5 separate regions of the Homo sapiens genome follow, and regions 2, 3, 4 and 5 are each linked to region 1. The links are contacts of gene promoters, found by promoter capture Hi-C in blood cells and fetal thymus (Javierre and others, 2016). All regions are on one chromosome and are shown on one strand. The core of a region is centred on a gene start or on the middle of the fragment in contact, and the rest is flanking DNA. Distances in the headings are between cores, read along the strand shown. Region 1 holds the start of HRH3 (histamine receptor H3). Region 2 overlaps TAF4 (TATA-box binding protein associated factor 4). Region 3 overlaps TAF4 (TATA-box binding protein associated factor 4). Region 4 overlaps TAF4 (TATA-box binding protein associated factor 4). Region 5 overlaps TAF4 (TATA-box binding protein associated factor 4).

Region 1 (2,661 bases), core at 96-2,595:
ACGGGTCTGGGGGTTCCTTTCTGCAGTCAGCCCTGAGGTGGCAGCAGAGGAATCCCAGCTCCTCCTTCCCCAAAGTTTCTGAAGCGCCACGGGGGGCGAGGGGAAGGGGCAGGTCCCCACAGTATGGGGAAGCTGCTATAAGTAGGGGAGTGACGGTGCATGTCAGCGCCCGGGGTCCCCTCTGCAGCCCCTCCCCCAGACACGCGCACTCTGGCCTCTTTGAGGCACCAGGGATGCCTTCGGCTGCTTCCTTCTCCTGTGAGCGGAGTTGCTGCTTCCTTCTCCTGGGGCGCGGCTCCCTCCCTGCCTGCTGTCTGATGTGTGTCTCGCTCTTGGTGGGTCCTCAGCCTGGCGCTGGTGGCTGCTTCCCTGGCCTGTGGGTGTCTGTGTATCTGAGTGTGGGCATGTCTGTCTGTCTGCCCTCAGTGTTTCAGGAGGAATCTGTCCTTGACCCGGTGTATCTGAGCGCATGTGTCTGGTGGTGGGGGCGCTCCCTCCTGCCACCTCTCCTCTCCTCCCCCGTCCCCTCCCACAGGCGCTAACACAGCCACCACCTGCGCCCTGAGCGCAGTGACCTCGTCTGTCCGCTGCAGTGGCGACTGCCCCTCTGTCCACAGGGGTCCGTGGCTGGGCTCCGAGCGGCTTGCTGCTCCCTCCTCAGCCTGAGGCCGCCGGAGCCCAGGCTAGACGCGCTCCCCTCCGGCTGGGTCCGCCCGGCGCCTCATCTTCCCTTATGTAACTCCACATCTGCCTGCGCCTTGCGGGTCACCCTGGACCCTGCACTGGGCCCTGTCCACACGGAGGCTGGCACCCAGGGTCCGTGCAAACGGGAGGTGGAGCGGACCCCTGGTCTGGGCACCGGCTTTCCAAGACCCCCTCCTCCCCATCCCTTCTCCTCCAGACGTTCCTTGCCCCGGAGACCCACATTCCCAAAACATGCACCGAGGAAATGCCCCGCAGGGCAAGTCCCCGGAGCGCGGGTGCAGGCGTTTCCCCCACCCCCACCCCGGGTCCCCACAGGCGCCAGGGCTCTCCATGATGACCGGGCAGGGGTCACCAGGGCCGAGGGCACGGGAAAGGCCGAGCAACCCAGACCCCGGCTCCGAGTGCGCGGGCTGACTGACCGCAGGCGAGCCCCCAGACCCGGTCAAGCCCCGGCCGGGCTCCCAGCCAGCTGCTGTGAGCGCAGGGGCTGGGCTCCAGGCAGCCTGGCGGGCACGCGGCGCTGTCCGTGGTGCTGCCGGCGCCGGGCGGGGCGGGGGCGGGGAGGGGGCGGGGCGAGGGCGGCAGCCAATGGCGGGGGCGCTGCGCGGGGCGCGCGGGGCGGTGGGCTGGGCGCGGGGCGCACTCGGCTGCGCGTTGCGCTCCGGCTGCACGGTCGCACCGGCAGCGGCTCAGGCTCCGGCTCCTCTCCCGCTGCAGCAGCCGCGCTGCCGGCCCCACTGGGCTCGGATCCGGCCCCGGCCCCCTCGGCACCGCCTGCTCTGGCCCCGGCCCCGGCCCCGCGGACCATGCGCTGGGCGCCCCCAGGGGAACCCGACCCGGCCAAGGGCCCGCAAAGACGAGGCTCCCGGGCCGGGGCCCCTCCCGGCCGCCCAGCTCTCGGCCGGCGCCCTGCCCCGCGTCCCGGAGCCGCGTGAGCCTGCGGGGCCATGGAGCGCGCGCCGCCCGACGGGCCGCTGAACGCTTCGGGGGCGCTGGCGGGCGAGGCGGCGGCGGCGGGCGGGGCGCGCGGCTTCTCGGCAGCCTGGACCGCGGTGCTGGCCGCGCTCATGGCGCTGCTCATCGTGGCCACGGTGCTGGGCAACGCGCTGGTCATGCTCGCCTTCGTGGCCGACTCGAGCCTCCGCACCCAGAACAACTTCTTCCTGCTCAACCTCGCCATCTCCGACTTCCTCGTCGGTAAATCCCCAGCCCCTGGCCGCTGGGGACCCAGGGGCGCCCAGCGTGGCCGGGCCAGCGGGGACTGGAACACGGACCTGGGTGGCTCCCGCAGGCACACGCCCCACCAGGGGACCCGGCCTGGGAAGGGGGCGTCCGGAGCCCATGGGGTGGGGGGCACAGGCGAAGTTCCTTGCCACTCAGGCCTCGGGACAGGGGCTGGGGAGAGATGTCCCCGGGAAGGGACACGGGCACTGGGCGAGGCGCAAGGCGCAAAGGCAGCGGGTGCAGCTCTGGCTCCTGCGCTGTAGCCAAACAAAGGCTGCTGCGGACTTAGGACGCGCGGAGGGCGCAGTGGGGCGGTTTAGAGAAGGTCTGGGGGAGGGGACATGGAAGGGGGATTTTTAGAGCTGTGTTGGGGGAAGGGACGGTGGGGAAGGTGGGGGTTGGGGGAGACGCTCGGAGGAGCGTGCTCTCACGTGTCCAGGCTCTGCTGCCGGCTGGGGGGCGGGGCACGCGGAGGGGGCTGGAGCGCCAGACACCTGTTGGGGCTGTGAGGTGCGTCTCCCAGACGCTCCAAGCCCGCTTGGCAGTAGTAGTAGCGGCTGGCGGCTGGCGGCTGCAACCAAGTGCCCTTTCAGCCAGGAGAAAGGCTTTCTCCTTGTCTAAGCTGAGACCGAGGGTTGTCCAGCGCCAGGGTAGGGGCTGGAGTCCAGCGGGGGAGGGGAGAAGGAAATTGTCTTCTTTCCTCCTTTGAGGGCTGGGAGGGCTGGACAGAAG
Region 2 (2,661 bases), core at 53-2,552, 230 kb after region 1:
ATCTATTACAGTTCTCATTTTGGTTGCAGTTCAGACTGTGCCATCTTTGGCCAATGGAAGCATCTCCAGGTTGGTTCCTGAGTCACGCTGGGACGTGGGGCTGATGTCCTTGCCGTCTGGACGTTAACATGTGTCAGGCTCACCTTACACCTTTCCTGTTTCAGACCGAAAAAGTCATTTCTCCAAGAACTGGTTTCTTCTAGTGGGAAATGGCGTTTGAAGACCACTCGCTGGGACTAGGGATGTCATTGCTGCTGGGGTGGGTTGGCCTTTTCAGTGGACAGCACTGGGAAATGTGTGTAAAACATGGTCTCATGGGCTTATATGGGTATTTCCAATTCAGGTAGTTCAAATTCAGAGGTGTAGGAGTTACCATGTTCAAAATGACGTCTTTATCTTCACAGTAAGAATTCTGGCTCTTGGCTGCCCCAAGGGCTTGGGGGGTGGGGAATTGGAGGGGAGGGCAGGAGAAGGAGAGATTAAAATAAAAGGATCCTGGTTATGGACATAGGAGATAATAGAATTAAAATATCTCCTACCTTTGGACATAGCCTGAGAATAAGAATATGGGCACTCCTGCCGAGGGTGGTGAAAACAGCCGAAAGTTGTTCATGTGCTTTCTCCCTTGGCCCCGTTTTGTATTTTGTGCTGTATTTATGTTGTCGAAACATTTAGCTGTTACACACCATAAGCTCTCCCTTTCGCCCTCTTTGAGTTTTAGTGCCATAAATAATGACATGTTTAATGCCGTGACTCGTCTTTATGTTGTGTCTCTGTAGTCATTTTGATTTTTCCAAATCTCATTCTCTGCTAGATTCTTTTGGAACGCTTCATGGGAGCAGCCACTCCCAAGTTCCCACCTGCTGATGAGTTTGTGCCCTTTGTACCTGAAGGTCTGTTTTTTGGCTCACGTTGTATTTACTGAAGTGTCTTAAGGATGTTACTCTGGATTATTTCCTCCCTAAAGTGTTACTGTCCAAATCTAATGAGAGCCTCATTTTACCTCCTGTAGGCCACGTGTTTTTCTTCCCTGGGTGTCCTTTTTCTCGGAAGCCGGCTCATCCCACTGGAGTGCGTGCTGGGCTTGGTTGTGCTGGGGTGGTGTTCTCAGTACTGGCTGTGTTCTTTCAGTGCGGTTCAAGTCTCCTTAGGAACATCTGCAATAATGATCCTTTGTGTTTGTTCTGTTCTTTTGTTTCTTTCTTCAGAGAGTCCCATTTTCCACGTGTTGTATCTTCTTTGCCTGCTGGAGCACTTTTTACAGTCTCTTAATTTTTAAAATCTCTCTCTCTCTTTTTTTTTGTTTTTTGGTTTTTTAGAGACAGGGTCTCTCTCACCCATGCTGGAGTGCAGTGGTGTGATCACAGCTCACTGCAGCCTCGACCTCCAGGGTTCAAGCAGTCCTCCCACATTGGCCTCCCTAAATGCTGCTGAGCCACTTGTGTCCAGCCTAATTTCTCTCTCTCTTTTTTTTTAATTTTTATTTTTTGAGACAGAGTCTCCCTCTGTCACCCAGGCTGGAGTGCAGTGGCTCTATCTCGGTGTGATCTCAGCTCATGGCAACCTCTGCCTCCTGGTTTTCTTCTGCCTCAGCCTCCTGAGTAGCTGGGATTACAGGTGTGCACCACCACACCCAGCTAATTTTTTTGTATTTTTAGTAGAGACAGGGTTTCACCATGTTGGCCAGGCTGGTCTCAAACTCCAGACCTCAAGTGATTTGCCCGTCTCAGCCTCCCAAAGTGCTGGGATTACAGGTGTGAGCCATTGTGCCTGGCCTAATTTTTCTCTTTTTTAAAAAATTATCTTTTTTGTCCTTTTTGGCTTCCATTTCTCTTAAGGCGTGATTTGCTGTTTACCTGCTGTTTTGAGTATGTGTTTCTGAGGTCTTCTGTGGTCTGTAGGGATGCTCTTCTGCTTTTTATCCTCTTTTTCTCTCATGGGAGCCTGTCTGGGATTTGACCTGAATGTCTTTCTGTTGCTAATTTCGACGTGAGTTTAGGTTTCTCGAACTTGTAACAGGACACGTGGTTTGCAGCGTTTGCTGACTTTGTGGTGCTCCTCTGTGGTTACTTTCCCGTGATGTTAAGAACGGGAGTCCTCAGCGTCTGTGGCTCCGGGGCTCTGTGCACCTCCCAAGCATCTGGACTTTGCTTTGCCTTCCTTGTCCCTGTCCTGCTCAGTACTGATTCACTCCCAGCAGGTTCTCTCCTGCGTGAGGCCCTGTGCTGCAGGAGCCCTGGCAGGTCAGTGTGGGCATTTGCGGTGGCCAGGCTGCCCTCCCTGGTCCTCCCCTGCCCCAGGTTTGACTGCGGCTCTTGGAGGGACCTGCTGCTCTTCCCAGGAAGTCTGCTGGCTCCTGGGTCCAGGCCCGTCGGGGTCCAGTTCTGCAGCGTCCTTCAGGTGATGGCTGCTTGTGGTTCATCTTCATCAGTTTTGTTCTAAAGATTGTCCGCTGGCTTTTGGTTTTGCTGTGTCGTTGCTCTTTTATGTGGAACTTTGGGAAGATCCAGAAACTATGCTACCCCTGTCATCGTCTTCCAGAATACATTAACTTTGAAAATTACTTATTTTAGTTTGAAGTAGTTTTCAAATCTACAGAAAAGTTGCAAGAACAGAGTAAGGAGCTCCGTGCAGACTCCGGTGTATGAGCATCACGCTGTC
Region 3 (2,661 bases), core at 119-2,618, 210 kb after region 1:
CTGGCGGGGCTGCACCCACCGGGAGAGAGCTCGCTGCTCCGGAGCCATTCTCAGGCTTACACTGCCCCCTGCTTTCAGAAGTTGCAAAGGAGTGTTTAAAAAATTGGAGACAGAAAATGTTGACTGCTAGATTTATACATTGGAAAAGTACTAGTTTAAAATATCAGTAAACATTTGCATTCTGATTATTCATGTAGAATGGAAATGTTAGGAATCGAGTACAGGCCACTGAGTTGTCTGAGCTACCTTTTGGCGTCTGGCTGTTCATTTGCTTAGCAAAGCAGCCCCTCCTTTCTGACAGTTTGACACTGATGACCCATCCTCCATTGCTCGAATCTGCTCTGAAAACTCCCCTCTGTGGGAGGCTTCTTGTTGACACTCACTTTTGGGGAGTAAAGAAAGGTGGGTTTGGGTGATTGCAGGGAGCTGGGGACCCTCCCCTATGGGAGGCTGCGGCTGTGGAGCCCTGACCGCCCTGTAGCCAGCCTCTGCACCTGGGAGGATGGAGCTTTCAGGAGCCGTTCTTCTGTTTGTTGTTTTGATTTCTGAGAGATGGGGATCTGGGTTGCCTGTTAGGATTATTTACTCTGGTCTCTATGTGACTTTTTCCATGGACTTCTGAGGACTGGGGTCTCTGCAGTGCCTGGCTTTGTGAACGTCCGTTTTTGATGCAGGTGCAAATCATGCCTTCCTCACCCGCTCAGGACTGCGATCGTCAGGGCACAGGGCAGGCCTCCCAGCAGCACTCCCGTGTCCAGCGGGCTGGCAGGTGGCCGGGGTCCTTGGCTTCCTGGGCGTCCTGGCCACCGCAGGGAGGCTTGTTTTCTTTTGCTGGGCGTGAGGCTGGTCTCCCCCTCGTCAGCTGGTGGCGTGAGATGCCCTTACCTTGTGTTTTTGGATTCTTGTAGCCTCAGCTCGTTCTGGGTGGCGCTGCCCAGACGGCTTCACTTGGGACGGCGACGGCTGTTCAGACGGGGACTCCTCAGCGCACGGTACCAGGGGCGACCACCACTTCCTCAGCTGCCACGGTAAGAGCCACTCCTTTCCGTGCCTTCAAAGACGGTCAGGCCCGTGGCGCAGGTCAGAAAATGCAGCCTTGAGACCTCAGGCCGGCTTCTGTCCCAGACCGCTCACTGCTTGCTTCACAAAGCAGTGAACAGTCTGGGGCCCACGTGAGCACGTGGGGCTCTGCTGCTGTGCTGTGTGAGGTGGGCTCCGAGGGCCTTAGACCGCAGAAGTCTGCAAACAGCAAAAGCCCAAACACCTGCCTTTGAAAAAGTCACTGGTGCACTGTCGCGTTGTATGTAAAACAGCAGCGCCACCCGTTTGTACACACTCGTAGTGTCGGCCTGTATCGATACACATCTTTATTAAAACAGAAGAGTCACTGGTGAACTGTTGTGTTCAGTGTGTAAAACAGCAGCGCCACCCGTTTGTACACACAGTGTCGGCCTGTATCGATAGACATCTTTAAACAGTGGGCCCCACTTGACGCCTTTTTGGTGTTTCTTTGCTGCGTACTTTTCGTTGCTTTAGTGACCGCATCCTATTTGGTTCCTTCTGTGTCCGTTTGGATTGGCATAGGTTGTCCTTATGGTCAGCAACATTGTAGCAGGCATCTTCGCAGAGTCTCTTTTCACTTTTTTAATTATTTGCATAGCTGCATTCCTAGATGTGGCCTTGCGGGGCTGAGGGAGATGCTGACTTCGGTGGCCATGTGACTGATGTGGCTGGCCTGCCCCATGGCCCAGGGTTCCAAGAGGTGGTGCGTTTTCTTGAAAGAAGTTTAGAGAAGAAATATATGTATCTTTTGTACATATGCATATTTTAGTAACCAAAGGCTGTGACAAAAATCTGCCTTTTAAGATTTTTCACTTATATCTTTTTACTTTAATCCAGGAAACTATGGAAAACGTGAAGAAATGTAAAAATTTCCTATCTACGTTAATAAAACTGGCTTCATCTGGCAAGCAGTCTACAGAGACAGCAGCTAATGTGAAAGAGCTCGTGCAGAATTTACTGGTGAGAAACCTTGACTTTACATTCCCTTTCCCCTAAAGCCTGTTGCATAGGACAGACACCTGTTGCTGCTGTGACCTGTGCCCGGGAGGCCTGTGCCAGCAGGGAGAGCTCCTCTGGAAGGCTGCAGGCGAAGGGGAGGGGTGCACACGTGTCGAAGGCGTGTGTGGCCTAGCTAAGGAGACTCCTTCCTGGGGCTGGGTGTTCTGGGGCCGGCGCCTGGAGGTCTCCCGGGCTTTGCCGTTTTCTGGTGCCTGCGTCCCTTGTCTGTGGCTCTCTTCTCCTCTGGCTGCCCCAACCATGCTGCACTCTGGTCAGGGTCTCCAGCAACTCCCTTCTGGCCCTCTCCCCACTCCTGTGTGACCTCTTATAAAATTCCCAGGTGTCCGCAGTCCCGGCTGGAACAGGCATTCTGCACCCTGAGCCACCAGAAGCCCCCTCCCCATGGAGCAGACCAGCTGAGGCACATTCGCGCTCCAGTGGCAGAGCCGTCCCCCCCACCCCCACCCCTCCCGAAACCTCTGTCGCAGAGAACAGCACTCTGTCCCCTGGCCGGAAGGTGGGAGGGAGGATTCCTGGCAGCCTCCCCTCTCCTTAACCCACAGTCCCAAGCTCCAGATCTCCACTCATGGCCGAGCTCTC
Region 4 (2,661 bases), core at 64-2,563, 180 kb after region 1:
CAGTGTATCATTTTAAGAATTCGTCCTGTGCCTTCTTAAATAAATCCAGTGAGTCATTTTAAGAATTCATCTTGTGCCTTCTTAAATAAATTTTTGCCTAACCCAAGGTACAGGAGTTTTCTAGAATGCTTATGGCTTTAGCTCTTACTCAACCCAATTCAAGTTAATTTTGGGAGAGTTGTAAGGTAGGGGGTTGAGACTCATTTTTTCTGTGGTTACCAATCATGCCAGCCTTATGTGTTGAGGAGACCTTCCTTTCTCTATTGAACGATGCTGCTGCCTTTATTGAAACTCAGTCGGCCACGTGTGAGGACGTCACTTCTGGGATGTGTTCTGTCCACTCATGTCCTTGTCTTCCCTTCTGCAGCTCAGCACTTTCCAGCCCATTTAGAGGGAGTGTTGATGGGTGGCAGGAGTCCTCCAGTGCTGCTTTTTCGAAAACGTTGAGGGCTGTTCTGGTCGTTTGCATTCATGTGTTTCAGAATCAGTTCGTCAACTTCTACAAAAAAAGCCTCTTGATACCTTGATAGCTTTTTGTTTGTTTTGAGACGGAATTTTTCACTCTTTCACATCTTTTCCTGGAGTGCAGTGGCACGATCTTGGCTCACTGCAAGCTCCGACTCCCGGGTTCAAGTGAGTCTCCTGCCTCAGCCTCCCGAGTAGCTGGGATTACAGGCACGTGCCACCACACCCGGCTAATTTTTGTATTTTTAGTAGAGATAGGGTTTTGCCGTGTTGGCCAGGCTGGTCTTGAATTCCTGACCTCAGGTGATCCGCCTGCCTCAGCCTCTCAAAGTGCTGGGATTACAGGTGTGAGCCACTGGGCCTGGCCAATACCTTGATATCTTGCTTGGGATTGTATTGAGTCTATAGATCGGTTTTATGATCATTGATATCTTAGCAATATCGAGTGTTCTGATTCACGAACGTGTTGTACCTCTTCATTGATTTAGGCCTTTCAGGATTTTTCTCAGGGTTGTTTCAAGTTCTCAGTGTTTGTATCCTGAACATACTTTGTTAAATTTATTCTTAAGTATTCATATTTTATGCCATGTACGTGGTCCTTTAAAAAATTTTGTTTCCAATTGTTGCCAGTATTTAGAAAAACAATTGCTTTTGGCCGGGCGCGGTGGGTCAGTGGCTCGGTGGCTCAGTGGCTCATACCTGTAATCCTAGCACTTTGGGAGGCTGAGGCGGGCGGATCATGAGGTCAGGAGATTGAGACCATCCTGGCTAACACTGTGAAACCCTGTCTCTACTAAAAATACAAAAAATTAGCTGGGCATGGTGGCACACGCCTGTAGTCCCAGCACTTTGGGAGGCCGAAGCTGGTGGATCACGAGGTCAGGAGATCGACACCATCCTGGCTAACACTGTGAAACCCTGTCTCTAGTAAAAATACAAAAAATTAGCCGGGCGTAGTGGTGGGCTCCTGTAGTCCCAGCCACCTGGAGGCTGAGGCAGGAGAATGGCATGAACCTGGGAGGCGGAGCTTGCTGTGAGCCGAGATCGCGCCACTGCACTCCAGCCTGGGCGACAGAGTGAGACTCCGTCTCAAAAAACCAAAAAAAAAACAACAAAAAAATTGCTTTTAAAAATAGTGACTTTATAGCTCTTCCCCAAGCGGCCTGAGATGATCTGTGAAAATGGTTCATTAGTCACTTGACCCAGAAATCCCCACAAAATCGTGCAAATCCAGAGGTTCAGGTCTTCTTGATCACTTTAAGAACGCTCGTGAAACTGCCCAGGCCATCAAGGGTATGCATACGTGAGAAGTCACCAAGTGTCTGAAAGACGTCCCTTTATAGAAACAGTGTATGCCATTCCGACTTGGCAGGGGTGGAGCTGGCAGGTGTACCTAGGCCAAACAGTGGGGCTGGACACAGGGTTGGTGACCCGAAAAGAGCGCTGAATTTTTGCTGCACACAATTAAAAATGTGGAGAGTCACACTGAATGTGAGGGTGTAGATGTAGGCTCTCTGGTGTTTGAGCACCCAGGATGCGCTGTGGGACTTCCAGGGCTGGTGGTCGGGTTCATCCATACAGGGCGCCCCGTCACATTGAGACGATCCTCACGGTAAAGACACTTGTTCCCAAGCCAGGTGAGGAAGTTGCACAGAGGAAAACTGTACCAGAAGAAACTGAAGAAACAAAAACTTGTGGCATGGGAATAAACTCAGCATACAATAAATGCAATTAAAATAAAAAAAATTGACTTTATATCCTGTGGATTTCTTAGGATTTTCTTCAAAGATAGGCGTGATCTGCAGTAAAGAGTGGTTCATGTCTTTTTTTCTGGTCTGTGCACCTTTTATTTCTTGTTCTTGTCTCATTGCACTGGCCACAACCTCCAGTGTAATATGACAAACAGAAGCGTTGAGAAGGGACATTTTGCCTTGTTTCTGATCTTGGGGGAGGCAGTCTGTCTTCTCTCATGACGCACATGATGTCAGCTGCAGGTTTTTCATAGAGGCCCTGTGTTAGGTTGAGGAATCCCCTTCTGTCATAGGCCATTCTGGCTGCTGTAACAAAATACCATAGACTGGGAGGCTTCTAGACACCGGAAATTCATTTCTCACAGTCCTGGGAAGTGCAAGATTGCCATGCTGGTGAGGGCCTGCTGCCTGCTCCCATGCAGCTTCTTGTGTGTCCTCAGAGTGT
Region 5 (2,661 bases), core at 121-2,620, 160 kb after region 1:
AAGATTTGGCCCAAGTGTAGATTCCCATTCCAGGACAGAAAAGCACTTTCTCACCATGGGCCTTGATCCCTTGGCCTAGGGGGCGTGTGCTTGCTGCATGTTTTAGGATGAGTACTCCCAGGTGAATGTGTGTCTGTGGGTGCTGTCTGGAGCATTGGTTCCCATCTGTGGGGAAAGGGGGAAAATGTCCACTAGCCCTTAATCGCGCTGTTGGGACGGGTTGGATTTGGCGAGTCCAGGCCCATGCTGGGTGGCGGCATGCAGACGGCCACCCCTGAGGTTGCAGGAGCTGTGAGTTCTGGTGGCCAGTGGTGGCAGCCAGTGCTCTGGCACAAGGGACATTCCTAAAAGTTTAGATTTTGTGACTTGAGGGCCCTGTTGCCGTTTGACCTGGGAGGAATATGTTGTTCCTCGGAGCCTTGGCTTACCCAGCTGTAAAGTGGGGTTGCCCTTTTGGTGAAGAATGTGAATTCTGTCAGGTTGGGCCAGATAACATAGCTGTCAGGTGGCGCTCACTATTCCAAACTCTCCCAGTTCCCCTCATTTTTCACTGATTTTCACACATTAATCCAGACTGGATGTTTTCTCAGTGACTGAGGTGTTTGGTGTGGCAGCTGACTGGTTCTGTCAATGGGGAAGTTACCGAGGTCTGAGGTGGGTCACCCTGGGGCGGTGGTTGCCAACATAGGGGAGGGTTGCAGTGGCCTTTGGAGGCCTGGACCTGGGTGGAGGGCTCACTTTAGGCTAGAGGCCTTAATCTGGTGTTTCTTTTGACATACTCAGGTAGGAGTGACATTTGAAAAGAACAAAGAAAAAGAACTTTTGGGGAGCTGTGTAAAGACAGCCCTGGACAGCTCTGCCTAGCATAGGGCAAGGGCGCCGCTCTGGGTCTTCCCTTCCTCCCTGCCCCCTGCCCCGCGGCTGGGGTCGTCACCATCGCCTTCGGGATGAACAGAGTCATCTTGGTGACAGGTTGGGATGGACCTCACCTGCCTTTGGTGTCTCAGAGCTGGTGACCCTCATGGCTTAGTGGCAGCCAGGAGTCGGGGTCCTGTGACGCTCTTAGGAGCCTCTCTCCTCACTGCTTACTGTGCCCGAGCACTGCATTCACAGCAGAGGTCTATGAGTTTGAACAGAGGATGACGTTTGAAGTTCGTTACGGTTGCCCTGGTTCTTAGGGCCTGTGAGAAGCTTTGTAGGAGAGGGTGTCCCGCTTGCTTCTGTGGCAAATGGACCTGAGGCAGGCCCCGGGCGCCTGGGAAGTTGGCCTTCTCCCAGGGCAGAGAGCAGAGCCACCCTGGCTTCCAGGACTGCCCCCGGGCTCCCCGGTGTGCTGTGGAAGTTGCCCCTTAGACATCAGCACAGGGAGGCCGGGAGGCGGCGTCTGGTCAGAGCAGCACAGACCGGGCTCAGCAGAACAGACTGGTGGGCGTGTCCGCATCCCGAAATCAGAGTGGAATGGAGACAGTTCCTGTTCTACCTCCAAAGCCTTTTCTACTGTATAATGTGAGTTTTCTTCCACTTAAGGGATAAATTTGAAGAAAGCTTTTATAAATTGTTGGTTGTAAGTGAGTTGATCAAAGCATAATTAGCAGCTGTGTTTGAGGATCTTGAAGCAGAGGTGTAACAGGGCTCTGGAGAAGCTTGCCTGAGATTTGGGGTAATTTGCAGGGTTCCCGAAGTGCTTTGCTTTTCTTCTTCATGGTGCTCAGTAGGAACCTCCAAGCCCTCGATCATCCAGGAAACAGTTGCTGTTTAGGGTGTTCACCTGTGGTGCCCGGCTCAGGCAGCGTGATGGGGGCGTTTACTTAATCAGGCCTTTGATAGCAATAAAGCAGTTAAATAAAGGGGGCTTTTGGCTGCAGGCCCTTCTGTGCCGAGTGCTGTGCACCTGGGCTTCCTGGACGCTTCTGCTTCCAGGTGGGCCTGCGGTTGCTATGGCATTGTGGTGTCAGCTGCAAACACGTACACAGCTGTTCTTTCCAATTCTTGCGTGGAATAATGAAGTAGAATAAGTGCTGTCAAGTTATGTTCGAAAATGGGGTGCTTAATATTTCCATGGTTGGACCATGAAAGTTTTGAGTGAAAACTTTTGATTTTTACATATCTCAAATGAACATTTGCACCAAAGATGTACAGCTTTCGAAAAACAAAGAGATACATGTTGTCCACCATGAGGCCCCTCTCCCATTTGAGAAAGTACCTGGTGTCCGCTGTTGGTCAGTCCGCGGTGGTCCCAGGCTCTTCTCCAGGCCTGCCTTCTGCCTGGAGCAGGCCATGCTGCAGTGTGCAGGATGATGTAGTGAAGTGCCCCCAGCTTCTCCCACCGTGGGTGTCATGTTGTGGAGCAGAAGTTGTCGTTGGGAACCGCGTGTGAGGGCAGGAGAAATTGTTTGTTGGGAGCCGCATGTGGGGACAGGAGAAGTTGTCTGTTGGGGACTGTGTTTGGGGACTGGAGAGGTTGGCCCCCCGAGCCCCATTGTCTGTGGCCTGGTGTGTAGACCTGTGTCCGTCCTTCCTGAGGTCTTGCTGAGGTTGGCCCCCGAGCCCCATTGTCTGTGGCCTGGTGTGTAGACCTGTGTCCGTCCTTCCTGAGGTCTTGCTGAGGTTGGCCCCCGAGCCCCATTGTCTGTGGCCTGGTGTGTAGACCTGTGTCCGTCC

What was found. The method cuts DNA at HindIII sites, captures the fragments that hold promoters and counts their contacts. A CHiCAGO score of 5 or more calls a contact.
Region 2: a contact is called between a fragment that was not itself captured here and the fragment with the promoter of HRH3 in region 1, in 6 of 17 cell types (M2 macrophages, monocytes, M0 macrophages and 3 more). The highest score is 5.7, in M2 macrophages.
Region 3: a fragment that was not itself captured here is called in contact with the fragment with the promoter of HRH3 in region 1 in 12 of 17 cell types (activated CD4 T cells, M0 macrophages, neutrophils and 9 more); the score reaches 10.4 in activated CD4 T cells.
Region 4: a contact is called between a fragment that was not itself captured here and the fragment with the promoter of HRH3 in region 1, in 10 of 17 cell types (neutrophils, M2 macrophages, total CD4 T cells and 7 more). The highest score is 8.8, in neutrophils.
Region 5: a fragment that was not itself captured here is called in contact with the fragment with the promoter of HRH3 in region 1 in 1 of 17 cell types (neutrophils); the score reaches 5.5 in neutrophils.

Annotation. Positions count from the first base shown.
Region 1 is chr20:62,218,962-62,221,622 of GRCh38, reverse strand. It overlaps HRH3 (histamine receptor H3), which reads left to right and starts at 1,345. Exons shown (of 3, transcript NM_007232.3): 1 at 1,345-1,902. The coding sequence starts at 1,653. RefSeq lists a silencer at 1,131-1,240. The HindIII fragment of the contact is 16,770 bases long and covers 1-2,661 here.
Region 2 is chr20:61,990,252-61,992,912 of GRCh38, reverse strand. All of the region lies in intron 14 of TAF4 (TATA-box binding protein associated factor 4), which reads left to right. Among named protein-coding and RNA genes, the nearest start is that of MIR1257, 38 kb to the right of the region's middle. RefSeq lists an enhancer at 2,660-2,661. The HindIII fragment of the contact is 9,088 bases long and covers 1-2,661 here.
Region 3 is chr20:62,008,413-62,011,073 of GRCh38, reverse strand. TAF4 (TATA-box binding protein associated factor 4) reads left to right here. Exons shown (of 15, transcript NM_003185.4): 4 at 909-1,028; 5 at 1,900-2,022. Among named protein-coding and RNA genes, the nearest start is that of MIR3195, 55 kb to the left of the region's middle. The HindIII fragment of the contact is 5,713 bases long and covers 1-2,661 here.
Region 4 is chr20:62,036,942-62,039,602 of GRCh38, reverse strand. The region is part of intron 1 of TAF4 (TATA-box binding protein associated factor 4); the gene reads left to right. It also overlaps the pseudogene RPL17P48. Among named protein-coding and RNA genes, the nearest start is that of MIR3195, 27 kb to the left of the region's middle. The HindIII fragment of the contact is 5,228 bases long and covers 1-2,661 here.
Region 5 is chr20:62,058,798-62,061,458 of GRCh38, reverse strand. The region is part of intron 1 of TAF4 (TATA-box binding protein associated factor 4); the gene reads left to right. Among named protein-coding and RNA genes, the nearest start is that of MIR3195, 4.7 kb to the left of the region's middle. The HindIII fragment of the contact is 354 bases long and covers 1,194-1,547 here.